Regions from separate parts of the Homo sapiens genome. Here regions 1 and 3 are each linked to region 2. The links are contacts of gene promoters, found by promoter capture Hi-C in blood cells and fetal thymus (Javierre and others, 2016). All regions are on one chromosome and are shown on one strand. Each heading gives the region's core, a stretch centred on a gene start or on the middle of the fragment in contact. The rest is flanking DNA. Distances are from core to core; before and after follow the strand shown. Region 1 has its middle 14 kb from the start of CLDN11. Region 2 holds the start of LRRC31 (leucine rich repeat containing 31). Region 3 overlaps SKIL (SKI like proto-oncogene).

Region 1 (3,581 bases), core at 927-3,426, 540 kb after region 2:
ATTGAATCTATAGATCACTTTCAGTAGTATGGACATTTTATCAATACTAATTCTTCCAATCCATGAATGTGGGATAATTTTTCATTTTATTGTGTTTTTGATTTCTTTCATTAATGTTTTATAGTTTTCAGTGTACAGGTCTTTCACCTCCTTAGTTAAGTTTATTTCTAAGTTATTTTATTTTATAGCTATTGTAAATGAGATTGTTTCCTTAATTTCTTTTTTGGATAGTTTGTTGTTAGTTTATAGAAAGGATGCTGATTTTGGTATGTTCACTTTATATCCTACAGCTTTACTAAATTTATTTATTCTAGCAGTTTTTTGGTGGCATCTTTAGTGATATATATATGATTATGAATATATACTTATAATCATGTCATCTGCAAACAGGGATAATTTAATTTCTTCCTTTCCAGTTTGAATGCCTTTTATTTTTTCTTTTGCCTATTTGCTCTGGTTAGGACTTCCAGTACCATGCTGAATAGAAGTGGTGAGAGTGGGCATCCTTATCTTGTTCCTGATCATAGAAGAAAAGCTTTCAAGTTTTCATTGAGTATGTTAGCTATGGGCTTGTATATGGCCTTTGTTTTGTTCAGTTACATTATTTCTATACCTAATTTGTTAAGAGTTTTTTTAATCATGAAAATATGTTGAATTTTGTCAAATGTCTTTTTTGCATTTATTGAGATAATTATGTTTTTTGTCCTTCGTTCTGTTAACGTGACAAAAGCACATTTATTGATTTGTGTATGTCAAATCATCCTTACAACCCAGGGATAAATCCCACTTATTCATGGTGAATGATCCTTTCAATGTGTTGTTGAATTTGGTTTGCTAGTATTTTGTTGAGGATCTATTTATTTATTTATTTATTTATTAGACAGAGTCTCACTTTGTCACTTGGGCTGGAGTGTAGTGGCATGATCTCAGCTCACTGCAAGCTCTACCTCCCAGGTTCAAGCGAGTCTTATGCCTCAGCCTCCCGAGGAGCTGGGATAATAGGGGTGGATCACCACACCCGGCTAATTTTTTTTTTTTTTTTTTTTTTTTTTTTTTGAGACAGAGTCTTGCTCCATGGCCCAGGTTGGAGTGCAATGGCGTGATCTTGGCTCACTGCAACCGCTGCTTTCCGGGTTCAAGCAATTCTCCTGTCTCAGCCTCCTAAGTAGCTGGGATTACAGGCGCCTGCCACCACACCCAGATAATTTTTTTTTTTTTGTATTTTTAGTAGAGATGGGGTTTCGCCATGTTGGCCAGCCTGGTCTCAAACTCCTGACCTCAGGTGACCCACCTGCCTCAGCCTCCCAAAGTGCTGGGATTACAGACGTGAGCCACCGTGCCCGGCTAATTTTAGTATTTTTAGTAGAGATAGGGTTTCACCATGTTGGCCAGGCTGGTCTCGAACTCCTGGCCTCAAGTGATCTGCCCACCTTGGCATTCCAAAGTGCTGGGATTACAGGCATGAGTCACTGCACCCAGCCTTGTTGAGGATTTTTACATCAATGTTCATTAGAGATATTGGCCTGTGATTTTCTTTTCTTGTAGTGTCCTCTGCTTTTGGTATCAGGGTAATGAGGGTAATACTGGTCTCATACAATGAGTGTGGAAGTTTTCCTTCTTTAATTTTTTTTTTTGGAAGAGTTTGAGAAGAACTGATATTAGTTCTCTCTCTCTCCCTTTTTTTTTTTTTTTGAGACAGAGTTTTACTCTGTTGCCCAGGCTAGAGTGCAGTGGCATGATCTCGGCTCACTGCAAGCTCCACCTCCTGGGTTCAAGCAATTCTCCTGCCTCAGCCTCCCAAGTAGCTGGAATTACAAGCACCTGCCACCATACTGGCTAATTTTTGTATTTTTAGTAGAGATGGGGTTTCACCACGCTGGCCAGGCTGGTCTTGAACTCCTGACCTCAGGTGATCCCCCCACCTCGGCCTCCCAAAGTGTTGGGATTACAGGCATGAGCCACCCCGCCCGGCCTTATTAGTTCTTTATTTTTTATTTTTTGAGACAGGGTTTTTCTCTGTTGCCCAGGCTGGTGTATAATGGCACAATCATGGCTCATTGTAACCTCAAACTCCTGGGCTCAAGCAGTTCTCCCACTTCAGCCTCCTGAGTAGCTGGGACCACAGAAATGTGCCATCACAACTGTCTAATTTTTAAAATTTTTCTTGTAGAGACAAAGTCTTGCTATGTTTCCCTGGCTTGTCTCAAACTCCTGGCCTCAAGGAATCCTCCCATCTCAGCCTCCCAAAGTGCTGGAATTTCAAACATGAGCCACCATGCCTGACCTGTATTAGTTTTTTTAATATTGGGAAGAATTCAGCAGTGAAGCCATCAGGTCCTGGGCTTTTCTTTGGTGGGAGACTTTTTGTTTGTTTGTTTTTTAAAAGATTCAGTCTCTACTTGTTATTGGTATGTCAAATTTTCTTGCTTATTTCATCTTGGTAGGTTGCAGGTGTCTAGGAATTTATCCATTTCCTCTAGGTTATACAATTTGTTGGGTACTACTTAACTACTCAATACTTGCTCATAGTAGTCTTATATCATCCTTTGCGTTTATGTTATATCAATGGTAATATCTCTTTATTTTATTTCAGCTTTCTCTCTTTTCTTCATCTAAGGTTTTGTCAATTTTATCTTTTTAAAAAAAGAACTCTGAGTTTCACAGATATTTTGCATTGTTTTTCTAGTCTCTATTTCATTTATTTCTGGTCTTATCTTTATTATTTCCCTTCTTCTACTGACTTTGGACTTAGTTTTTTCTTTTTCTAGTTCCCTAAGGTGTAACATTAGGTTGATTTTTGGGGAATCTTTCCTTTTAATGTAGTAGTTTATTGCTATATACTTCCATTTCAGGACAGCTTTTGCTGTATTCCGTAAGTCTTGGTATATTTTATTTCCGTTTTCATTTGTCTCAAGATTTTTTAAAATTTTCCTTTTAATTTCTTCTTTGACCCATCAGTTGTTCAGGAGCATGTTGTTTAATTTCCACATATTCGAGAATTTTCCAAAATTCCTCCTATTATTTATTTCTAGTTCCATACCATTGTGGTCAGAAAAGATAGTTAATTTTTTTTTTTTTTTTGAGATGGAATCTTGCTCTGTTGCCTAGGCTGGAGTGCAGTGGTGCCATCTCGGCTCAGTACAACCTCCGCCTCCCAGGTTCAAGCAATTTTCCTGCCTCAGCCTCCTGAGTAGCTGGGACTACAGGTGTGTGCCACCACACCTGGCTAATTTTTGCATTTTTAGCAGGGGTGGGGTTTCACCATGTTGGCTAGGCTGGTCTAGAACTCTGACCTCAAATCATCGGCCTGCCTTGGCCTCCCAAAGTGCTGGGATTACAGGCATGAGCCACTGTGCCTAGCATGTATTTTTAGTAAAAATTGGGTTTCACCATGTTGGCTAGGCTGGTCTTGAACTCCTGAACTCAAGCAATCCACCTGCCTCTGCCTTCCAAAGTGCTGGGATTACAGACATGAGCCACCACACCTAGCCCACCTTACTACCCTAGGCCTTTTGATTGAGGAATTTAAATCCTTTACATTCAAGGTAATTATTGACAGGTAAAGACTTACTACTGCCATT
Region 2 (3,519 bases), core at 867-3,366:
ATTTATTTTCATAACCCTTGAATTTGCAATCCCTGTTCTGGAAATTTATACTTTAAAAATAGCTGAAATATGGTGAAACAGGGAATGGGAAAGAAAGAAAGCCAAAGATACTCACCGAAGGACAAACAAGGAACTCACTGAGTAATTAAGACATATGAATGTGATGGAATATTATGCAACCATGAAAATTATGCATATGAGCATCATGTAGCAATGTGGGAATTGAGCAATATAATAATATGTTCTAGAAGTAGGATCACAGCTCCACATAAACTCAGGAGGAATCTGTAAGCTATTACAACTGTGGAAAAGATGCCAATCTGGCCCCAGCGACCTCTCTGACTTGTCTTCCACTACCCCTTCCTCTCCATGTCTCCCATCCTGCTTTAGCATCCCTGACTTCCTGACTCTCTCTCAAGCACTCTAGGCTCAGTCGTATCTAAAGCCTTTGCATGTACAGTCTCTTTGCCTGGAAAGCTATTTGCACAAATACCTAAGTGGCTCGCTTTATTCATTCATTCAGCAAAGCTGATTTTATTCAGATTGCTGCTCAAATGCCTCCAAATCGAAGACTTCTTTCCTCCACCCCCATCTAAATAGCACCCCATCCCATCATTCTTTGTCTCCTTAGCCTGCATTATTTTTCTTCATATCACTTATCACCACCTGAAGTTATATCTGCATTTGGTCCTTTTCATGGCTGTATTTCTAACACTTAGAGCAGGGGTTACTACATAGCAAGCACTCAATAAAGATTTATTGACTGCTGACTGACAGAACATAAATGCATGCATATGAAAAGAAAAGACTGAAAAGAATCTTAAAGAAATGATCGTTTGTGTTATAATGAAAGGAAATTCAGTATTTTCCCTACATTTTTCTGTAGTGTTATATTGCTTTTAACAATTTAAAAGTAAAATTATGAATCATTTAAAGCATGTAAGTAACATAATAAATGATTAGCACAGAGACTCATAGTTGAGTCTTTAGTCTCAAAAGTCTTAAAGTCTTTAGTTTAACCCATAAGATCACTTTAGAAGAAAACTCTAAAAAATAAAGAAACATAGAGGCTGGGAAGGGTGTGTGTGTTGTTGGTGGGGGAGGTGTGGATGGTTAATGGGTACAGAAAAAATAGAATATATAAGATCTACTGTTTGATAGCACAACAGGGTGACTATATTTATCCTTTGTTTACAAACAACCCGTTGTGCTCTTTTAGTTATTTTTAAATGTGCAATAATTTATTGCACATTTAAAAATAACTAAAAGAGGCCTGGTGTGATGGCTTACACCTGTAATCCCAGCAGTTTGGGAGGCCAAGGCAGGAAAATCACCTGAGGTCAGGAATTCGAGACCACCCTGGCCAATGCAGTGAAACCCCATCTCTACTAAAAACACAAAAATTAGCTGGGCATGGTGGTGCGCATCTGTAATCCCAGCTACTCGGGAGGCTGAGGCAGGAGAATCGCTTGAACCCGGGAGGCAGAGGTTACTATGAGCTGAGATCACGCCATTGCACTCCAGCCTGGGTGACAAGAGTGAAACTCTGTCTCAAAATAAATAAATAAATAAATAAAACTAAAGGTATAATGGGATTGTTTGTAACACAAAGGATAAATGCTTGAGGGGATGGATACCCCATTCTCCACAATATGATTATTAGGCATTGCATGCCTGTATTGAAACATCTCATATACCCCATAAATATATACACCTACTATGTACCCACAAAAATTAAAAATAAAAATATTTTAAATGTGGAAGTAAAAACAAAACAAATACAACAGCAAAAACACCAGCAGCCAGCAGCTTACCAGTCTCTGAGGTGGCTGTCTTCTGTATCCAGTCGCTGGGTTGGGAATCACTTGTTTTAAGGTCATTGTCCTCTTTTCTGCTTTCAGCATTGGAGCCCCTGAGAAATTTGTTGACAGTTGAAGTCTGGGGCTTAGTTTCTCCTTCTGAGGAAGTTTTCTTCCTTGTTTGACTCATGGTGAAGTTGATGGGGGTAGTTCCCAATAAGACATCTTCCTGTTGCTTTCTGTTTTCTAGGATTTCTAAGAAGAAAAGAAGATTCTGTCAAGCCTGTGTTCAATCAAAATATCCTCCCCTACATGACTGCCCCCCACTCCCTGCCGCACCACCTTTCTTTTTCTGTTTTTTTATTGCTGTTAATGTTTAACATGAAAATAAGAATGATGTAACCCAGGATCCAGAAGCCAATACAAACTCAAAGCAATTTGAGTTTTTAACTTTGCCCTATTTCATTGTGTGAGATACAAGTCATTAAGCATGACTTTGGCAAGCACATCAAGTGTGTCAACACATCTTAAATTACAGCTGTCAATTAGTTACCTGAAGACTTAATATGCCTTTAAAAGGGACTGGCCATTTGCAAAGCTGTCCCCAGAGGAGTTTGCCTTCAGCGACCTCTGCCTTCTGGTGACCCCCACCTCCTTCCTTTGCACATAAGCTCCTTTTTCTCTTTGCATATTCATATTTTCTCTACCCCCAACCCTGCACCACCACCCCACTGAAACATGTTGGCAGTAAAGAATTCATTCATTCCATAAATAGTTTTAAAGAATCTACTGTGGGCCAGTTAATGTTCTAAATGCAAAAGATTCAATGACGAACAAGAGACAGTTCTTGTCTTTGATGGGATCTTAACCTGGTGGGAAGATGGACCTGTATGCCATTGATTGAGTGGGACAAGAGCCAAGAGATGGGAGGTGGTCAGGGAACCCACAGTAAACTAAGCATGCCTTGGAGAACAGACTTGGAACAGTGAGTGACATTGCCTGGGTTTTGAAGGACTGCGAGTTAGCTTTTTAAGAGAGGGAAGAGTATCCCAGGCAGAAGAAAGGGTAAGCTCAAGAGCTCCCAGGCAGGAACGGCTGGAAGAGCCTAGCATTGGAGGTGGGGATGTGGGTCAGGGGGTGTGGAGGTTAGGGGTGAGGTCTGGTATGAATTGAAGCTAAAAAGGATTCGTAAAGGTCAATCTATTATCTCTCCTGAAATTTGCTTATATTTTATGGGAGGGCTAAGGACTTAAACTAAAGGGATACACAGAAGTGTTTTGTTTTGTTTTGACATAGAGATGGATTTTCACCATGTTGGCCAGGCTCGTCTTGAATTTCTGGCCTCAAGTGATCCGCCCACCTCGACCTCCCAAAGTGCTGGGCTTAAAGGTGTGAACCATCATGCCCAGCAGAAGTATTCTTGAAATTACAGTTTTCATAGTCTCCTCTCTAATAAAATAGCTCTTTCTGTAACATTATGTTCCAGAATGGTCCAAGAAACATTTTACACAGGGAATCCTAAAAATGGACCTTGCAGAGCCCACCTCCACTCGTGAGGGCTGGAATGTTCCATGCACTTGGAGCACTGCTTTGGAAGTCACAATTGGACATTCCATTTTTCTTTTAAAATCTTCCTTTCATATTAGAGCAGGGCCCAGCCCTGGTTTACCCAGCAACAGACAGCAGTGGAACTAAACAATTACTCCATGCACAGCAGCAC
Region 3 (3,545 bases), core at 1,029-3,528, 520 kb after region 2:
ATGGGTATGTGTGGTCCCAGCTACCTGGGATGCTGAGGCAGGAAGATTGCTTGAACCCAGGAGTTAGAGGTTACAGTGAGCCATGATCATACCACTACGCTCCAGCCTGGGTTACTTGCAAACTAACAAAAAATCCCTTATAATTTTGTTTGTAATGCCTAAAGTGTTGATTTTTTTCCTAAGAATTCTTTACTGTGACCTTTATTTTCTGAGTTGTAATATTGTCTGTTTTGGTTAGAAAAAAAAAAGTTTAACCACAGAAATGCATGTTACATATTTGATTTTTACTTAATTGTAATATGTAATATATGTCTTGTTTTGCTTTTACTTGTTTTCAGCTACTACTTATACATGTGTGATAAAGTGGTTGCCCCAAATGTGTCACTTACTTCTGCTGTATCCCAGTCTAAAGAGCTCACAAAGACAGAGGCAAGTAAGTCCATATCAAGACAGTCAGAGAAGGCTCACAGTAGTGGTAAACTTCAAAAAACAGTGTCTTATCCAGATGTCTCACTTGAGGAACAGGAGAAAATGGATTTAAAAACAAGTAGAGAATTATGTAGCCGTTTAGGTAAGTATTCAGAGATTATCTTTCTAAAATTAAATATCTAATGAACACATTTATTGAGCATTTTCAAACAGGCTTTTTGTTTGAGCTAAATTTTCAGATAATTGGAGCTTTTACCTTTAAAAATGCTACCCTTCAAAACTCTGGGTGATTTATTTTAATCTCAGTTGCTATACTTTTCTAGCGTGGTGATAGCTCAGGAGACTGAGATAGATACAGGCTACCTGGCCTCAGACTGCAAGTTATTTTTGTCCGAATTTTTTTCCTTTCCTACCTTTTATTTGCTGTCAGTCTTCAGGAGATCCTTGTTTTTCTTTCCTCCTTTTTTTTTCTTTTTTTGTGACAGAGTCTTTATCGCCTAGGCTGAAGTGCAGTGGTGAGATTGCGGTCACTGCAGCCTCAACCTTTGGGCTCAAGTGATCCTCCCACCTCACCCTCCCTAGTAGCTGGGACCAGAGGCGCACACCACTGTGCCTGGCTAATTAAAAAAAAAAATTTTTTTTTTTTTTTTTGTAGAGATGGTCTTGGTATGTTGCTCAAGCTGGTCTCGAACTCCTGGGCTCAAGTGATCCTCCTGCCTTGGCCTCTCAAAGTGTTGGGATTACAGTTGTGAGCCACCGCACCCAACCTTTATTTTTCTTTCTGATTTGCCATGAACTGAGACACCATTTAATAATAAGAAGTATTATGTAAGTAAGAGTAGTTAGGTATAGAACTCAAGGAAGCTTAGTTATGGAATAAAGCAAGGATTGAAAGCTCTGGGGGCCAGGCATATAGCATAAATGTGGAATATTGACTGGTCATTTAAAAGAAAAATAGCTGGTTACTTACCGTGCCTTTTAAAATACTGTGGATTAAATGAGACATGTCTGCAGATATTGCCTGTGTTACCATCCATATAGCAGCACAGCTTTGCTTAGTGATTAGGCAGTGTGACAGTTACTTTAGCTGCATTGGAACAGTTGGAGGGTCCTCTATTTATTTAAGTTTTTATAGAGAATTGAGATTCTTGGGGGTTTTCTTTTCTTTCTTTCTTTCTTTTTTTTCTTTTTTTTTTTTGAGGAGTTTCACTCTTGTTGCCCAGGCTGGAGTAAAATGGTGAGATCTCAGCTCACCGCAACCTCCACCTCCCAGATTCTCCTGCCTCAGCCTCCTGAGTAGCTGAGATTACAGGCATGCACCACCACACCCCGCTAATTTTGTATTTTTAGTAGAGACGGGTTTTCTCCATGTTGGTCAGGCTGGTCTTGAACTCCTGACCTCAGGTGATCCGCCTGCCTCGGCCTCCCAACCAAAGTGCTGGGATTCCAGGCGTGAGCCACCACGCCTGGCTGATTCTTGGGTGGGGGTTTTCTGGTTTTTTTGTTTGTTTGTTTGTTTGTTTGGAGACAGAGTTTCGTATTTGTTGCCCAGGCTAGAGTGCAACGGTGTGATCTCGGCTCACTGCAATCTCCGCCTCCCAGGTTCAAGTGATTCTCCTGCCTCAGCCTCCTGAGCAGCTGGGATTATAGGCATGCACCACCACGCCCGGCTAATTTTGTATTTTTAGTAGACACGGGGTTTTTCCATGTTGGTCAGTCTGGTCTCGAACTCCTGACCTCAGGTGATCCGCCTGCCTCGGCCTCCCAAAGTGCTGGGATTACAGGCGTGAGCCATCGCGCCCGGCCAGGGGTTTTCTATACATTTATTTTGAGGGTTTTTTGTTTCGTTTTTCTTTTTTAGAGACAGAGTCTCACTCTGTTGCTCTAGGCTGGTGGAGTACAGTGATGCATTCATAGCTCACCGCAGCTTCAAATTGCTGGGCTCATAGTCCTTGCACCTCAGCCTCCCTAGTAGCTAGGACTACAGGCATGTGCCACTGCGCCTGCCTCATTTTTTCATTTTTTTTGTAGAGACAGGGTCTCACTGTATTGCCCAGGCTGGCATTAAGCTCTTAGCCTCAAGTGATCCTCCTGCCTTGGCCTCCTAAAGCATTGGGATTACAGATGTGAGCCACCATGCCTGGCCAATTTTGAGATTTTTAAAACTCAGTTTTCTTCAGATTTAAATATGGTAAACAAAAATTAGTAATGACTATTATGCCATATTTACATTGTATTTTATTTCTTAAATTAATTCTAATGACTTCTAAAAAATTATTGAGATAATTTATATACCATAAAATTTACCCTTTTAAAGCCTACAATTCAGTGGTTTTTAATACATTCACAAAGTTGTGCAACCATCACAGCTAATTTAGTTCCATAATGTTTTCTTTTCTTTCTTTTTTTTTAAGATGGAGTTTCACTCTTGTCGCCCAGGCTAGAGTGCAGTGGGGTGATTTCGGCTCACTGCAAGCTCTGCCTCCCGGGTTCAAGCGATTCTCCTGCCTCAGCCTCCTGAGTAGCTGGGATTACAGGCGTGTGTCACCACGCCTGGCTAATTTTTTTGTATTATTAGTAAGAGACAGGGTTTTCGCCATGTTAGTCAGGCTGATCTTGAACTCCTGACCTTAGGTGATCCACCCGCCTCGGCCCATAATGTTTTCATCACTCCAAAAATTAACCCTATAATCCATTAGGAGTCACTCCCTGATTCTCCCTTTCTCGAAGCCTCTGGCAACCACTAATCTATTTTCTATCTTTATGGATTTGCTTATTCTGGACATTTCATATAAAAGGAATTGTACAATATGTGGCTTTTCATGTCTGGTCAAGAAGCTTATGCTTCTTTCATGAAAGATAATGTTTTCACAGTCCATGTTGTTGCATGTACCAGTACTTCTTTTTATGGCCTGATAAGATTCCATTATGTGAATATACCACATTTTTTTTATTCCTTCGTCAGTCGGACATTTGCATTGGGTCTACTTTTTGGCAATTAAGAATAATGCTGCTATAGGCCGGGCGCGGTGGCTCACGCCTGTAATCCCAGCACTTTGGGAGGCCGAGGCGGGCGGATCACGAGGTCAGGAGATCGAGACCATCCCGGCTAAAAC

What was found. The method cuts DNA at HindIII sites, captures the fragments that hold promoters and counts their contacts. A CHiCAGO score of 5 or more calls a contact.
Region 1: a fragment that was not itself captured here is called in contact with the fragment with the promoter of LRRC31 in region 2 in 1 of 17 cell types (neutrophils); the score reaches 6.9 in neutrophils.
Region 3: a fragment that was not itself captured here is called in contact with the fragment with the promoter of LRRC31 in region 2 in 3 of 17 cell types (neutrophils, naive B cells and total B cells); the score reaches 6.7 in neutrophils.

What each region holds. Positions count from the first base shown.
Region 1 is chr3:170,403,120-170,406,700 of GRCh38, forward strand. No RefSeq gene overlaps it. Among named protein-coding and RNA genes, the nearest start is that of CLDN11, 14 kb to the right of the region's middle. The HindIII fragment of the contact is 3,286 bases long and covers 534-3,581 here.
Region 2 is chr3:169,867,819-169,871,337 of GRCh38, forward strand. LRRC31 (leucine rich repeat containing 31) reads right to left here and starts at 2,117. Exons shown (of 9, transcript NM_024727.4): 1 at 1,815-2,117. The coding sequence starts at 1,989. The HindIII fragment of the contact is 9,706 bases long and covers 1-3,519 here.
Region 3 is chr3:170,384,195-170,387,739 of GRCh38, forward strand. SKIL (SKI like proto-oncogene) reads left to right here. Exons shown (of 7, transcript NM_005414.5): 4 at 339-571. Among named protein-coding and RNA genes, the nearest start is that of SKIL, 28 kb to the left of the region's middle. RefSeq lists a silencer at 323-523. The HindIII fragment of the contact is 1,974 bases long and covers 1,292-3,265 here.